Regions from separate parts of the Homo sapiens genome. Here regions 1 and 2 are each linked to region 3. The links are contacts of gene promoters, found by promoter capture Hi-C in blood cells and fetal thymus (Javierre and others, 2016). All regions are on one chromosome and are shown on one strand. The core of a region is centred on a gene start or on the middle of the fragment in contact, and the rest is flanking DNA. Distances in the headings are between cores, read along the strand shown.

Region 1 (4,350 bases), core at 464-2,963, 290 kb after region 3:
TGATCTTGGACTTAACAGCCTCCAGAACTGTGAGCAATACATTTCTGTTGTTTAAAATTACCCTGTCTAAGGTATTTTCTTATAGCAGTTCAAATGGACTAAGACATGTATAATAGCCCCAACTGGAAACAATCCAAATGTCCATCAACTAATGAATGTGTAAACAAAATGTCCACATAATGGAATATTATTCAGCCATAAAAAATGAAGTACTGATACTACAACATGGATGAACTTCAGAAACATTGTACTGGCCAGGCAGGTGGCTCATCCTGTAATCCCAGCACTTTGGGATGCCAAGGTGTGTGGATCGCTTGCCAGGAGTTTGAGACCAGGCTGGGCAGCATGGCAAAATCCCATCTCTACAAAAAATACAAAAATTAGCCAGGTGTGGTGGCACATGCCTATAGTCCCAGCTACTTGGGAGGACTGCTTGAGCCCAGGAGGCAGAGGTTGCAGTGAACCAAGATCATGCCACTGCACTCCAGGATGGGTGACAGAGCAAAACTTCATCTCAAAAACAACAAACAAACAAACATTGTACTAAGTGAAAGGAACCAGTCACAAACGGCCACATATTATATGATTCCATTTATGTGAAATGCTCTGAATAGGCAAATCCTTAGGGACAGAAAATAGATTAGTGGTTGCCAGGGGAGGAAGAAATTGGGAGGCATGAGGTTTCTAGAATTAGACAGTGGTGATGGTTGCACAGTCTTGAAAATGTACTAAAAACCACTGAATTGTTCATTTAACAGGGACAAATTTTATGTATGATGTGTAAATTATGTCTCAATTTCTTAAAAAGTAGATCTGTGTGTTGTCATATATTCTATGTCCAGAAAACTTCTTTACTTTTTACATAAGATAATTTAAAAATTACCAGAGCAGTATATGTCAACTACATTTAAAAAATTACAATAAAGACCTGAATGTTTTTGCTGAAACTCTATATTCTAAAACTGACAAAAAATAGTGTACACAATAGATAACTTCTTTGTCATATTTCTCTATTCAAAATCTTGTGAATATTTGTATTTCTCAATATGTTATTGCCAAAAGATGTATATTTTTATTTTTTGCTGTACTGGCACAAATTTGGGTTACAATGTCTTCTAAAATGTTAAAATAAAAATGGCATTTTTGTTAGTTTCTCATAATAATAGCTTTATGGCTAATTTTGAAAGACCCTATTTGTAAGTTTTCAAAGACACATTTTAAGAATTGGACATTTTTGTATATGTTGCTAAACATTAGCTGGCATGGCTTTAGAATTAAATATTATTATTATATGGAAATTCATGAAGAGACAAATACTGGACAAGTTAAGATAAGGTGAGAAGATGTTTTCAGGGACCAGGACATATAATTTAAATTCAAAAACTTCTGGAAAATATAGAAAAGTATCTGCTTTGCTGCAAAATAAATTTTCCCTAATTTTTTTCAATTTATTTAAGGCAGCAAGATATATATTTTACTCTTAAAATATTTAACTTGTATTGCTATGTTAATAACTTTTCAAAGTACAACTTTTCAATTTTCTAGTATACCAAAGATATTCCTCCTAAATGGGTTTCTTCCTTTTTACTCATTGAAACTAAATGCAGTTCAGTTATTTGATTAGTTGATGCTAGAATTTGACCTGGAGCTTATATAATTAGAAGAGACACTAGTTTTCCTCATTTAAAAGCCTGGTTAGCATACTACGGTCTCGTTTCAGGGGAAGTCAAGCCTCTCTACTGCTTCTTTTTATAACCTTTAAGTTAATTCAGAACCCAGATAAGCCTTGATCTGAGGATGATATAACCACCGCAGGCAACATGGGGTAAGTATGCGCTTTTATATGCTTTAAGGGGCACTGAAAGGGGAAACAATTTTATAAGAGATGAAAACCCATCAATCCTTACCACGTGGTGTACTAATTTAAATCCAATATATGCTAACATTTATTTGAGGTAGGCATTCAAAGAAATAACTTTTATTTAAGAGTTATAACAATTTGTAAAACATTTATTTCCTTGCTTAATTTTTATATTATGTCTTAACTGCGCTTTGCAGGTTATCGATAAACTGGAGACTGAAGTTGTTCTGCATATTAATAAATATAGTTGAAGATGAGTTAAATTTTGAGAGCAGTCTTAAAGAAAGGATGCTAGACAGCGTAAATCTGACATGGACATGCCTCTTTGGGATTAAGAATAATTAAAGAATGAAAAAGATTAGGGATGGAGGGAGATTGGTTTATTCCTTTCTAACACAGAAAAAGAATAGGGGAATCTTCAGCATTCACTCCCCTATGTACAGAACAAAAAACATATCCTGATTGAAAATGTGTACTGATTAATTACATGGGGGCTTTATTGGTGAAACCTAATTCTAAACACTTCATGGGGCTTTGGTGTGTAATGAGAAGAACTGAGTTTCACTTAAACATTGTCTTAAGTGAGAATAGCGTTCTATTATAATTAGTATTGGAATTATGTGAGTTTTTATATGCTGAAATAGTATTCTGAATATGTAGAAATCTCTATATCACCCTTTTATATTTTTAATAGCCCCTTTTAATACAAAATCATATTGCTGTAAATGGAATAGCTATTTCATTGAAGGCTACTTCTGAAGGATTCAACATAATGATCAGAAATGTATCCTAGAGAAAAAAGTTTTTGATGCACATTTATTCTAAACATTTTTCACAAACTGAATTAATTAATGTCTACATTTTTCATAACCATGGGCTCTGGAAATGCAATCTAAACTCATTTGAAAACTCAGAGGCTTTTGAAACAAGATGACCATACTATTGGTTTTTTTTTTTTTCTTTTTTCTTTTCTTTTTTTAGACAAGGTCTCACTTTGTCACCTGGGCTCAAGCAATCCTCCCACCTCAGCCCCCACAGGTAACTGAGACCACAGGTGCACACCACCACACCCGGCTAATTTTTGTATTTTTTGTAGAGATGGGGTTTCGTCATGTTGCTCAGGTTGGTCTTGAACTCCTGATCTCAAGCAGTCCTCCCACTTCAGCCTCCCAAAGTGCTGGGATTACAGGTGTGAGCCACCATGCTCGGCCTTATTGTTAACTTTTTCTTAATTCCCTTTATTTACCTTCCCTTTTCTCTGTGTATAAGGGTGTACTTCAACATAGCAGGCCAGTAATAAACTAAGTAATGTAGATACAAAGATCAACTGATCTTCCTCCTTCCCTTCCTCTCTCCTTTCCTCCCTTCCTCTCTCCCTCTTCCTTCCTTTCTTTTTCTTTAATGACAGCAGTTCTTAACCTTTTCGGTGTCAAGAATTGCTTTTAGAATCTTCAGAAACCAGTCCACCATTTCTGCAAAAAAAAAAGTAAAATCACACAAAATTTTGCATACAATTTCAGAAGATTTACAGGTGACCTGAAACCCTATTCCTGGGACCACAGGTTAAGACCCTTAGACTTTGATTTTAGGACTGGAGTATGATTTGTTCAATATTTCTCTTTGTTTGGATTTTTATAAATGTAAGAATCTTTAAATTCATAATTCTTGCTAATCTTCTCAAGGACAGTGTGGAAGATTCCCCACCCGCCCCCCACACAATTTACATGAGTGTGAAACACAGTTTAACCAACATGCATCACATTACTGCTGCTGGGCCCCAAGGACTTGACTAATCACTTGTGCCTTTTGAGAGTGCCAGGAATCACCTTGGGAGTCATGGAAGGAAAAAAAACCCTCATTATGTTATTTGTAAAGCACTTTGAATGCCCCAAATAAGATGAACGAAACAAATCATAAATGCTAATATTACAGAGAGCACTCTTCTGATTGGTATGTTCATGATTATTTTGTTGTCTGTTCATGCCTTTACTGACAAAAAGACAGGGTAGTAAGTATTAACATCTGTTTGAGTCTTCCTAAAATAATCAGAAAAATAAAGAAAAAGTGGCAGCTAATCGGATTCTCAAATTTATCCATTTGAGGAAATCTCTAGAATTTATTTCCTGAGAATGAGGGAGTAGCTGTTTTGGATTTGTCTTTGGGGCCTACTTATCTCAAATGATTTGAGGATATAATTCCCTTATATGGGGCAATGCCAGCCCTTTCCACCTTTCCCCAGGCTATGCTGGCATGGTTTTAGCAAGCAATGAAGAAGCAAATACTGGAAAATTCTTATGCTCTCTAAAAAAATCTCCTCCTCGTAATTTTCACTGGGTTTTTTATGGAGTGTGTGAGTAGGTGGGGTGGGTAGAGATGATGCCTAAAGGTGGGTAAACAGATAACTGGGGAAAAGTAGAAAAACCTAACTGACATCTGCTAAGTACCATAACACCCGGGCAAAGGATGAACAATGGGAAAGAAAGGATGGT
Region 2 (4,545 bases), core at 671-3,170, 280 kb before region 3:
CACGTTGCCCAGGCTGATAACAATCCATCTTTAATTTACTCTTCTTGTCTGTGCTCCTGATACTCCCCATAGATCTCAACACACATCTTCCTGATTCTACCATACCAAAAAAAGTTACCATTTATAAGGAGTTACCTTTATATGGTTTTGCAGTTTTTTTGTGAGTCTCTTGAGAGCAAAGGCTACAAACAATCATCTTTGTTCACCAAACTGCTCCTATCAAAGTGCCTTGCACTGTTGTAAGTTCTGACATGGAGAATCTCATTCCCCCACAATGTCAAAAAAAAAAAAATCTGGTACTTAATGAATTTATTATTTGTAAAAGTTACAGGCTACACAAATAATTCCTCTAAGAGAACTCTGGTTTTACTCTACATTTTACTTATTTCTATCTCCTCTACAAGAAGGTAAGTTTCACAAAAGTTTTGTTTGTTTCATTCTTACAAGTATTCCCATCACAGAGAAGTGTGCCTGGCTTGTAGTTGGTACTCTAAGTATTTCTTAAACAAACAAAAAAGTTTACTTATAAGCTTCAATGTACTCCCTTTTGAGCATGGGTAATAAATCCAGAAGAAATATGATCTTTGTTATTATTCCTAGAAACAATACAATCATAAAAAGACAGTAAAAATAAATTTTTATAAGTATAGATGACTGAAATCATAGGCTTATATGTTTGCCAGCCCCCTCTTCCAAAGAAACTTTAAAAAGAATTGGTGTCTCATAAAAATCTACTATGTATCATCTCTTCCTAGGTTACCTTGTAATGGAAATGTTTAAAAAAAAATACTAAACTGATTAGTCAGCAAAAGGATGAAAGAAGCTGAGTGTGGTGGCTACACCTGTAATCCCAGCACTTTGGGAGGCCAAGGCAGGAGGATCACTTGAGCCCAAAAGTTCAAGGCTGCAGTGAGCTATGATGATGCCACCACACTCCAGCCTGGATGACAGAGTGAGAGACCCTGCCTCTATTTAACAACAACAACAAAGATGAAAAAATAAATCAGAGAACTAATCAGATTCTTTAAAACGTGTAAAAGTGTATAATTTCTCTAACATAGTGAACACTGACAGCTTTCATAAAATACAGTCATTCATTCATTAAATATTTGTGGAACCTCTACCATGTGCCAGCCATTTTTCTAGGGATACAGCAGTGAACAAGAATAAACATTCCTGCCCACAAAGAGAATTTTAGTGGGAGCTAAAGGCAGCCTTGCTGATAACAGACCCTATTTGCTGTGATAATTTACTAAAAGCAAACCTAAAAACTCAAAAACACTAATCTGATACTATTTACTACTATGGAGACAAAAGCCTCAAAACTCAGAAATGCAAAAGTAATCCTATTCCACCAGACATATAAAGTAAATAGGAAAAAAAGAAGTATTTATAGAATAAAACTCAACTGCAAAAGGCAATCTGAAATCACCAGAAGTTTTTTTTTTTTTTTTTTTTTTTTTTGAGATGGGGTCTCACTTGCTATGTTGCCCAGGCCGGTCTTGAACTCTTGAGCTCAAGCAATCCTCCCACCTCAGCACCTCAGCCTCTCAAAGTGCTGGGATTACAAGCATGAGCCACCATGCCCAGCCTGAAGTTTAAGTATAATCAAATAGTGAATAAATACAGCCCTTGCCAAAAAGACGTTCTACATAATATAATTATCAGCAATTAAGAAACCTTACCTATTCTAAACAGTAAGAAACAAATTCATATTTTACCAAAGGAAAGGTATACTCCCTAGCAACAAAGTGAAACAACTATGTAACCATTTATTTAGTTAGTTAGACAGAGAGAAAGAAAACGAGACAGACAGACACAGACAGGGTCTTGCTCTATCACCCAAGCTGGAGAGCAATGGCACGATCATAGCTCACTGTCCTCGACATCCTGGGCTCAAGTGATCAAAGGGTTGGTTGTCCTGCCAGGCCTACATGTATCAGAGCACACCCGCTCCTGACTGCTGGCAAGCTGACTCCCTTTCACAATGGATAGGCTGGAAGAATAAAGGTTCATACAAAAGCCATAAATCATCACAACTGGGAGTAAAAGGAATAAAAAGAATGAAATTAAGATCCAAGTGGGCCGGTAAGGTGGCTCACGCCTGTAATCCCAGCACTTTGGGAAGCCGAGGCGGGCGGATCACCTGAGGCTGGGAGTTTGAGACCAGCCTGACCAACATGGAGATACCCAGTCTCTACTAAAAATACAAAAAAATTAGCCAAGCATGGTGGTGCATGCCTGTAATCTCAGCTACTCGGGAGGCTGAGGCAGGAAAATCGCTTGAACCCGGGAGGCGGAGGATGCGATGAGCCAAGATCGCGCCATTGCACTCCAGCCTGGGCAACAAAAGCGAAACTCAGTCTCAAAAAAAACAATCCAAGTAGTGCTACAATAATAAGCGAGATCCTCCCTAGTTGCATGACATTCCCCACACCACCACAAATGAAAATCTTCATGTGTATAAAACTAGTACCTAATCAGGAGACAGGTTATGAACACTCAGCACCCAAAGTGATGGACACAATAAATACTGTACACATTCTAACCACCAATTGTATTTACTGTTTTCATTTGAATATGTGAGAATACTCTGCAAGTCCTGGAACAAATTATAAAACATTTAACTTTAAAACAGTTTAAAACTGTCTAACATCTTATCCAACCCCATTCCCACCCCATGCCCAACTCTTCCCATCTGGGGCTGGACAAATCAATGAAATTATGACTGACCCAAGTCATGAGCCCAGAAAAAGGACAACTCTAACTACTTAGGTACATGCTGAAGAGGAATTTAACATATTTTGATAAAAGGTTCTGCTCAAAAGGTGTCTTTGACCTTGAAGACACTATGCTAAATGAAATAGGCCACACACAAAAGGACAAATATTCTATGATTCTACTCATATGAGGTGCTTAGTCAAATTCATAGGGACAGAAAGTAGAATGGTGGATGCCAGGGGATTGGGGAGAGAAATGGGGAGTTAGTGTTTAATGGGCACAGAGCTTCAGCTGGGGAAGATGAAGCAGTTCTGGAGATGGATAGTGGCAATGGCTACACAACAATGTGAACAGACTTAGTGCCACTGAAGTGTACACTTACAAATGGTTAAAGAGGTAAATTTTATGTTATGTATATCTTACCACAATTTTAAAAAAAGTTGCCCTTGAGGGCTAACAAAACGGAAGGGGCAGACACGTCTTGTAATTAAACTGAGATTTGACTTTAGAGTCTTCCATTGGACTTCCAGTGTCAGCTTTCTCATGTAAAAAGTTTAGAAGTCATCAGACCTATCTTTACAACAAGAGAAAAGCTTAGCAAACTGAAAAATCAATAAACTCTCCTTTCTTAGATCAAAGAATTGAGATCACAGGTCAAACCATCCCTGCAAAATCACAAGAGACAAACTAACACAAAGGATCAGGAGTTGAGGTCAGCTTACCAGCAACTGCTGCAGCAACTGGTAGGAACACTTAAATGGCAATTTCAATGAATTGTCAGAAGCTGAGAGTGAACTAGTTTAAGCACTAAAAACCCTAGAGGCTCAGTCTAAGAAAACACCCCACTTTCCTGAATATTATCTCAAAGAACTCCACAAAATTCTCAAAGTAATTACGGAAGAAAGTTTCCCTCATGACTGACAAGGGGAGGGGAAGTAACACTTTTTAAGTTCACCCTGGGAAAGTAACCACTATCTACACACACACCAGTACATACACACACACACACACACACACACACACACCAGTACACACACACACACACACACACACACACACACACCAGTACACACACACACACACACACACACACACACACACACACACACACACACACACACACACACACCAGTCCCCACAACAAAAGCCTGCCCTCCTGAGAAAACTACTTTACCAGAGCTTTATCTGACCCTAGGGAGGAGCAATTAAATTAGCCAACTCCAGCCCCATCTAGGCTTCCTGTCTAGTTTAAGGTTTTGTTTGTTTGTTTGTTTAAAAAAAAAAAAAAAAAAAAAAAAAGAGGGTCATAGACCAGGACTCAGGCCCACTAAAAAACTAAGGAGCCAGGTGCAGTGGTGTCTGCCTGTAATCTCAGCTATTCAGGAGACTGAGCTCAGGAGTTCCAGACCAGCCTGGGCAACATAAGGAGACTGTGTCTCAAAAAAGAATAAAAATAAAACTAAGATTTAACCATAAGGTGGCATACGATGCTTCTGCTCTCCTACACTTTACCACCTCATCAACAATGCTCCAATATAATGACAGTGGATTACAAATAAAAAAGCTGCAAGACACAGATTTTGAGTTCAATAAAAGTTCTTGGGAAACCCCAAAGACAGTGAGAGAATAAGGAGAAACTGAAGCCTCTAGGACCTGCAGCTAAAAAACACGTTAAACACAGCCCATCTCCCAACTAGATTAACATATAACCTCATAATAGAAGCCTAAATCTTCAGTCTTTATTACCTGATACTTCATGTCTGGCTTTCAGCAAAAAATTACAAGCCATGCCAAAAGGCAAGAAAAAAATAGACTGAAAAGACA
Region 3 (4,763 bases), core at 36-2,535:
GCTCTAGGAATGTGTGTTTAATGCAACCCTGAGCTCACTTCATCCTTTCATGGGGCAAATGTGGAATAAATTACCAATGAAAAACTTTAGTAATTTTAAGATTTGTTTTACTTGAAGGTAGGGGTGTACCAACAGCTGCCAACACTTCTGTTGAAGTGTTGTAACCGAAGAGGTAAAAAGTGTACTGAGTAATCCACAAAATTGGGTAGAGCAAAGGATGCACGCCATGCTTATAAAGAGTTTAATTTTAAAATTTTTTAAATTAAACCTTCAAGGGAACTAGCATGTGAACGCCAAGGCATAATCTGTTATTTAATTACGGGTCTCCATAGGACCGAGGCGGAGAGAGCTCCCGGTAGAACCGACGCAACCATCCCGGGATGGTGACCAACGCGCGGCTGCTGCGGGCAGAGGGACTGAAGAGAACCGGTGGTCCCGACGCTGGCCCCGAGCCCGAGGAGTTAAACTAACAAAGAGCTCCCCGAGCCGCGAAACCCCCCAGAGCGGAAGCGACGCCTCCCCGCCGCCGCCGCCGCGCCGCGACCCTCCCCAAGTTCAGGGCCCGGCAGTGGACTCGCTGCGGGGCCTGCGGCCAGGACGGCGCCGGGTTCGCAGTCGGGATGCGGGAAACAGGTAGAGGCCAGAATACGAGCCCCAAAGAGAAGAGTGGGCGCTTCCCCAAACGGGTCGGCGCAGCGGAAAAGGCTAACTGAAGCAAGCGGGAGGCCCCGCACCGAGGCCCTGCTTCCCGGGGAGCAGCCAGGCACAGCGGACAGGGGGGCCGCGCTTTGTTACCGGCTGAGAGAAGCTCCGGCCGCCGCCGCCGCCATCGCCCCCGCCCCGGGGCGTCGCTTCCCGGCGGTTCTCGCCTTCCTCGGCCGAGTAGTCGATCTCCCCCTCCTCGGTCTTGAGACGCTTGGCCTGGCTCTCGTACTCCCGGTCCTCCTCGTACGTCTCCCTGGGGGAGGAAGAGGAGGAGGACATGGCGGCGGCCGGAGGGACCGGCTGGCAGGCGGGTGGGGGTGGCGGTGGGGCGCGCGCCTCGGATGCCGCCGGCCAGTCCTCGCCGCCGGCAGCGCCTCTTCTGCGAGGGTCTCCGCGGCCCGGCCGTCCGCGGGGACTGCGCGGCCAGGAGACTGGCGGCTGAGAAGCGCGGACGGACTGAGGGGGGCGCCCCGGGAGGAAGCTCTGGAGCGGCCGCTCCTCTCAATTACCGAGCCAACATTCAGCCTCTCCCTCCTCCTCCTCCGTCTCCGCTCCCTGCCCGGAGGAGCGAATCTAAGGATGGGGACGCAACCGTGGCTTCCGGTCTTCCCTCCTCCCCTAAGCCGCTCCCAGCCGCGCAGGCCGAGCCTCCGCCCCCGCCTTCGCGGCCGTCGCGCAGGATCGAATCCAGCCGCAGCCTGCGGGAAGCGCCCCCCCCGGCCCGGGTTCTGCTCCCTATTGGCAGGGGCGGGAAAGTCGACCGGGCTTCCCATTGGCTGTGAGGGCCGTTCGTCAAAAGCCGCCCGCTGCTCGACCTCACTTCTCTCCCCGCGCCTTCTGAACTCGCCGCGGTCCTGGGAGGCCCGGCGCGCAAGGCGCGCCGCCTGGGAGTAGTTGCGACCCGCAACCGTTGGCGCTATGCGGCTCCTACCCGAGGCCAGGCGTGGAGTGAACACGGACGAGCGACGAGAAGTGCGGAGAGGCTAGGGCTGCGGGTGTTAACCGCCCTGCCGCTAATTTAAATGCTTTTTATCACCTCTTAAAAAGAGAATGAGGAAAAAAACCTCTAAAATCCCTGCAGTCATACCCCCCGAAAAGCCCTAAAATTGCAGGCGATGAAGGGAGAAAACGGCTTGGAGCCATGAGAATGGTCTTTCCACTGTTTTGTGTGCAAAATCTGGTAGAAGTGGGCGGACCCTCCCGCCCCTAGCTGGGTGTTGGAGAACAGCTGTCAGCATTGACTGAAGGCTGCGAGGCGCGCGTCGGCAGGAGGCGCTGCACGCGGGCGCTCGTCGGTCTGATCGGTTATAACTCGTTTGTAACCTGGGCCCTTTACTGACTTGCCTGTCCCTGTAAGTCCCTGCTCCAGTTAAATATGTTTTAATCCTTCCATATAAAATCTCATCCTCCATCCCAATTCTTTCTCTTCTGGACAATGTATTTACTTCACTTGATCATTTATTGTCGAAAGATACAAAAGCCTTTCAAAGTTCTGTGATCACAGCTTGCTTCCTCTGTGGTGTCCTGAGGGCTTTTCCAAGATTTTAGTTGCTGCTCTCTTTTTGCAACAGGGCCCCTTATAACTCCCTCTTAAGATGTTCTGTTTTAAAAACTCTGTGAGCGCCTGAAGACAGGAACTGTGTGCAATTTTCATTTTCGCAAGCCCAGTTCCTGTGCGATCTCCAGCACAATTTAGGTGCTCAACAATGCTGAATGAGTAGTCCTTGGGAAATAAAGGTCCAGTGTATCTTTCAGGACAGAAACTGGCAAATCAAGGCAACCTAACTGCCCTCTGTCAGGTGCCTCTTGGAGGACTGCCTGAGATCAAGAGCCTCTTGTGTTTCTGTTGTCCTTGTCCCTCGGATGCTTTCCTAGATGTGGCTCTTCCTTTCCTAAGAGTGTAGATTGCTTCCTCCTCCAGCCTAGTTCTCTCCAAAGTTATTTCCTCCTCCAAAAAAGCTATTTTTATTTATTGCTGAGAGTGCTTTAACATAACACTTTTGTACTTTGTAAATTACACCGGCTGTCATTTTGGAATCTAATTGCAAGATTTTCCACACTATGCAGCTATAATCAAATGTGTGTGCGGCTGCAGGTATACATTGACAAAACAGAACTAAAAAAATTATAAATTTATTTTTTAAATTAAAATGGAAGTCGACAGAAGAAATAGCAAAAGAGTGGCAGAGCTGGCTGCGGATGAGAAAATGTCATTGGCAAAAAGCTCTGCAATGGTTTGGGAAAGTAAAATAGCAACAAGGGAAACAATGATACAATTCTGCTTAAAATATGTCCTATGGATTCATATGTCCCCTAACATATTCAGAATGCAGACATTACCTGGCCTTCAGAAAGCTGAAGATACCAAGGGTCAAAAAAAAGGTCTAACAAACCTACTTCACGTGTTATCTTTAGCATCCATTGTCCTTTTTATAGCAGTCTCAGTATCAAAGATCAGGAAAGGATGAGTGAATTAATAAACTTGATACAAAGGAAACTTCTTTGATGAGGTGAGATGGGCCATTCTCAAGATATTTTTAGTTTGCTCAAATTAAAAGAGAAGAGCTGAGAGCTTAAAACAATTATTTTTTAGGAGAAAGAAAACAATAGAATATTATGTGAAATAATTGAGTGTGATGAGAAGCACTAAATATCTTTTTGTTAAGTATGAGCAACTACCTGTTAATTTTGTTTTATGTACATTTTCATATGCTAGGTGAATTTAGTTTGGTAAATTCTATTCACTCACAACTGGATTTACTAGGCCTTATACAAACTTTCCAAATATTTCTTGTGAAGATGCAAATATTTTAAATTCTCAAAGCCCTGCATTCAACCTATGGATTATACCACATTACAATGCAACTGTCACACCAATGGGTAAGGAAATCCAGCCTTGCCAAACCTAGGGCTGCTGTGCTCAGCGTTCACAAACAGCAGGTGGAATTCAATATGTACCAGTATTAAACTTTGTTCTTTTTGTAAGTAGCCCAGTTGAGTAAAAAAAAAAATATTGAGGGAGTAAAACTTAGAAAGCATTTTTAAAGGACACCAATCAGTTCGTTAACCATGGGTGAAATGCGAGCTTGTTGCAGATGAGTTGTTCAGACAGTGACAGTAGGTCCTTTGATAAGGAAAATACTAGCTAGCTCATCACCAGGGCATGAGGAGCTAAAGAGAGAGGACATAAATTATACTCTACATTATTTCACTTAGGTGAGACAAAGAAATTACACACTGCCCAGTAGCCAGAAATACCTAAGAAAAGCAGAAACAGCTCCTAAATGCCATGACTGTCTGGAACCTCTCATGCATTACGGCCTCAGACCTTTGACTATTTTCTGAACATTTGATTGAATTCGCTGCTGTCAAGTAGGCAGCAGCCAAGAGCTCCCATTGCCACAGCTCAAAGGGGACTCCAGCTATACTGGAGTAGGAGACAGGCTTAGGGCAGGCCTAGGGAAATTGAGAGTCAAGGGCCTTTATAATCAATCCAGCCTCAAATTGCCCTTTAGTTTTAAATCTCGTTACTGATCTATAAAATTTATAAGACATTGTGCTAGGTGATGAGAGGACTACGTGAGCTGGTCCCTGCCCTCTCAAAGCTTGCAATCAAGTTGTGGAAACAAGGCTCATACCCAAGAGATAGGCTACAAGCATCCATATGTAATAATACATATACAATAATTAATAGCCACATTTAATGTGCCAGTCACTGTGCTAACCACTGAAAGGGTTTTGTCAATAAATTCTGACAGAAGCCTTCTACCAGAGGCATTATTATTACTCTTCCCAGTATACAATTAAAGAAACAGTCTAGGGGAGATTAAGAAACCTGCCTTAGGCTGGGCACAGAGGGAGGCAGAGGCACACAGATCACTTGAGCCCAGGAGTTTGAGACCAGCCTAGGCAACGTGGCAAGACCCTGTTTCCACAAAAATTGTAAAAATTAGCCTGGAATGGTGGTGCGTGCCTGTAATCCCAGCCACTCAGGAGGATGAGGTGGGAGGATTGCCTGAGCCCAGGGAGGTCCAGGCTACAGTGAGCCGTGACTGCAC

What was found. The method cuts DNA at HindIII sites, captures the fragments that hold promoters and counts their contacts. A CHiCAGO score of 5 or more calls a contact.
Region 1: the fragment with the promoter of ARHGEF33 here is called in contact with the fragment with the promoter of HNRNPLL in region 3 in 10 of 17 cell types (total B cells, naive B cells, naive CD8 T cells and 7 more); the score reaches 14.4 in total B cells.
Region 2: a fragment that was not itself captured here is called in contact with the fragment with the promoter of HNRNPLL in region 3 in 1 of 17 cell types (erythroblasts); the score reaches 5.1 in erythroblasts.

Annotation. Positions count from the first base shown.
Region 1 is chr2:38,888,162-38,892,511 of GRCh38, forward strand. ARHGEF33 (Rho guanine nucleotide exchange factor 33) reads left to right here and starts at 1,714. Exons shown (of 18, transcript NM_001145451.5): 1 at 1,714-1,825. The HindIII fragment of the contact is 7,511 bases long and covers 1-4,350 here.
Region 2 is chr2:38,321,912-38,326,456 of GRCh38, forward strand. The region is part of intron 2 of ATL2 (atlastin GTPase 2); the gene reads right to left. Among named protein-coding and RNA genes, the nearest start is that of ATL2, 53 kb to the right of the region's middle. The HindIII fragment of the contact is 2,784 bases long and covers 529-3,312 here.
Region 3 is chr2:38,601,643-38,606,405 of GRCh38, forward strand. It overlaps HNRNPLL (heterogeneous nuclear ribonucleoprotein L like), which reads right to left and starts at 1,286. Exons shown (of 13, transcript NM_138394.4): 1 at 796-1,286. The coding sequence starts at 984. RefSeq lists silencers at 1,006-1,105, 1,126-1,175, 1,396-1,465. The HindIII fragment of the contact is 8,602 bases long and covers 1-4,308 here.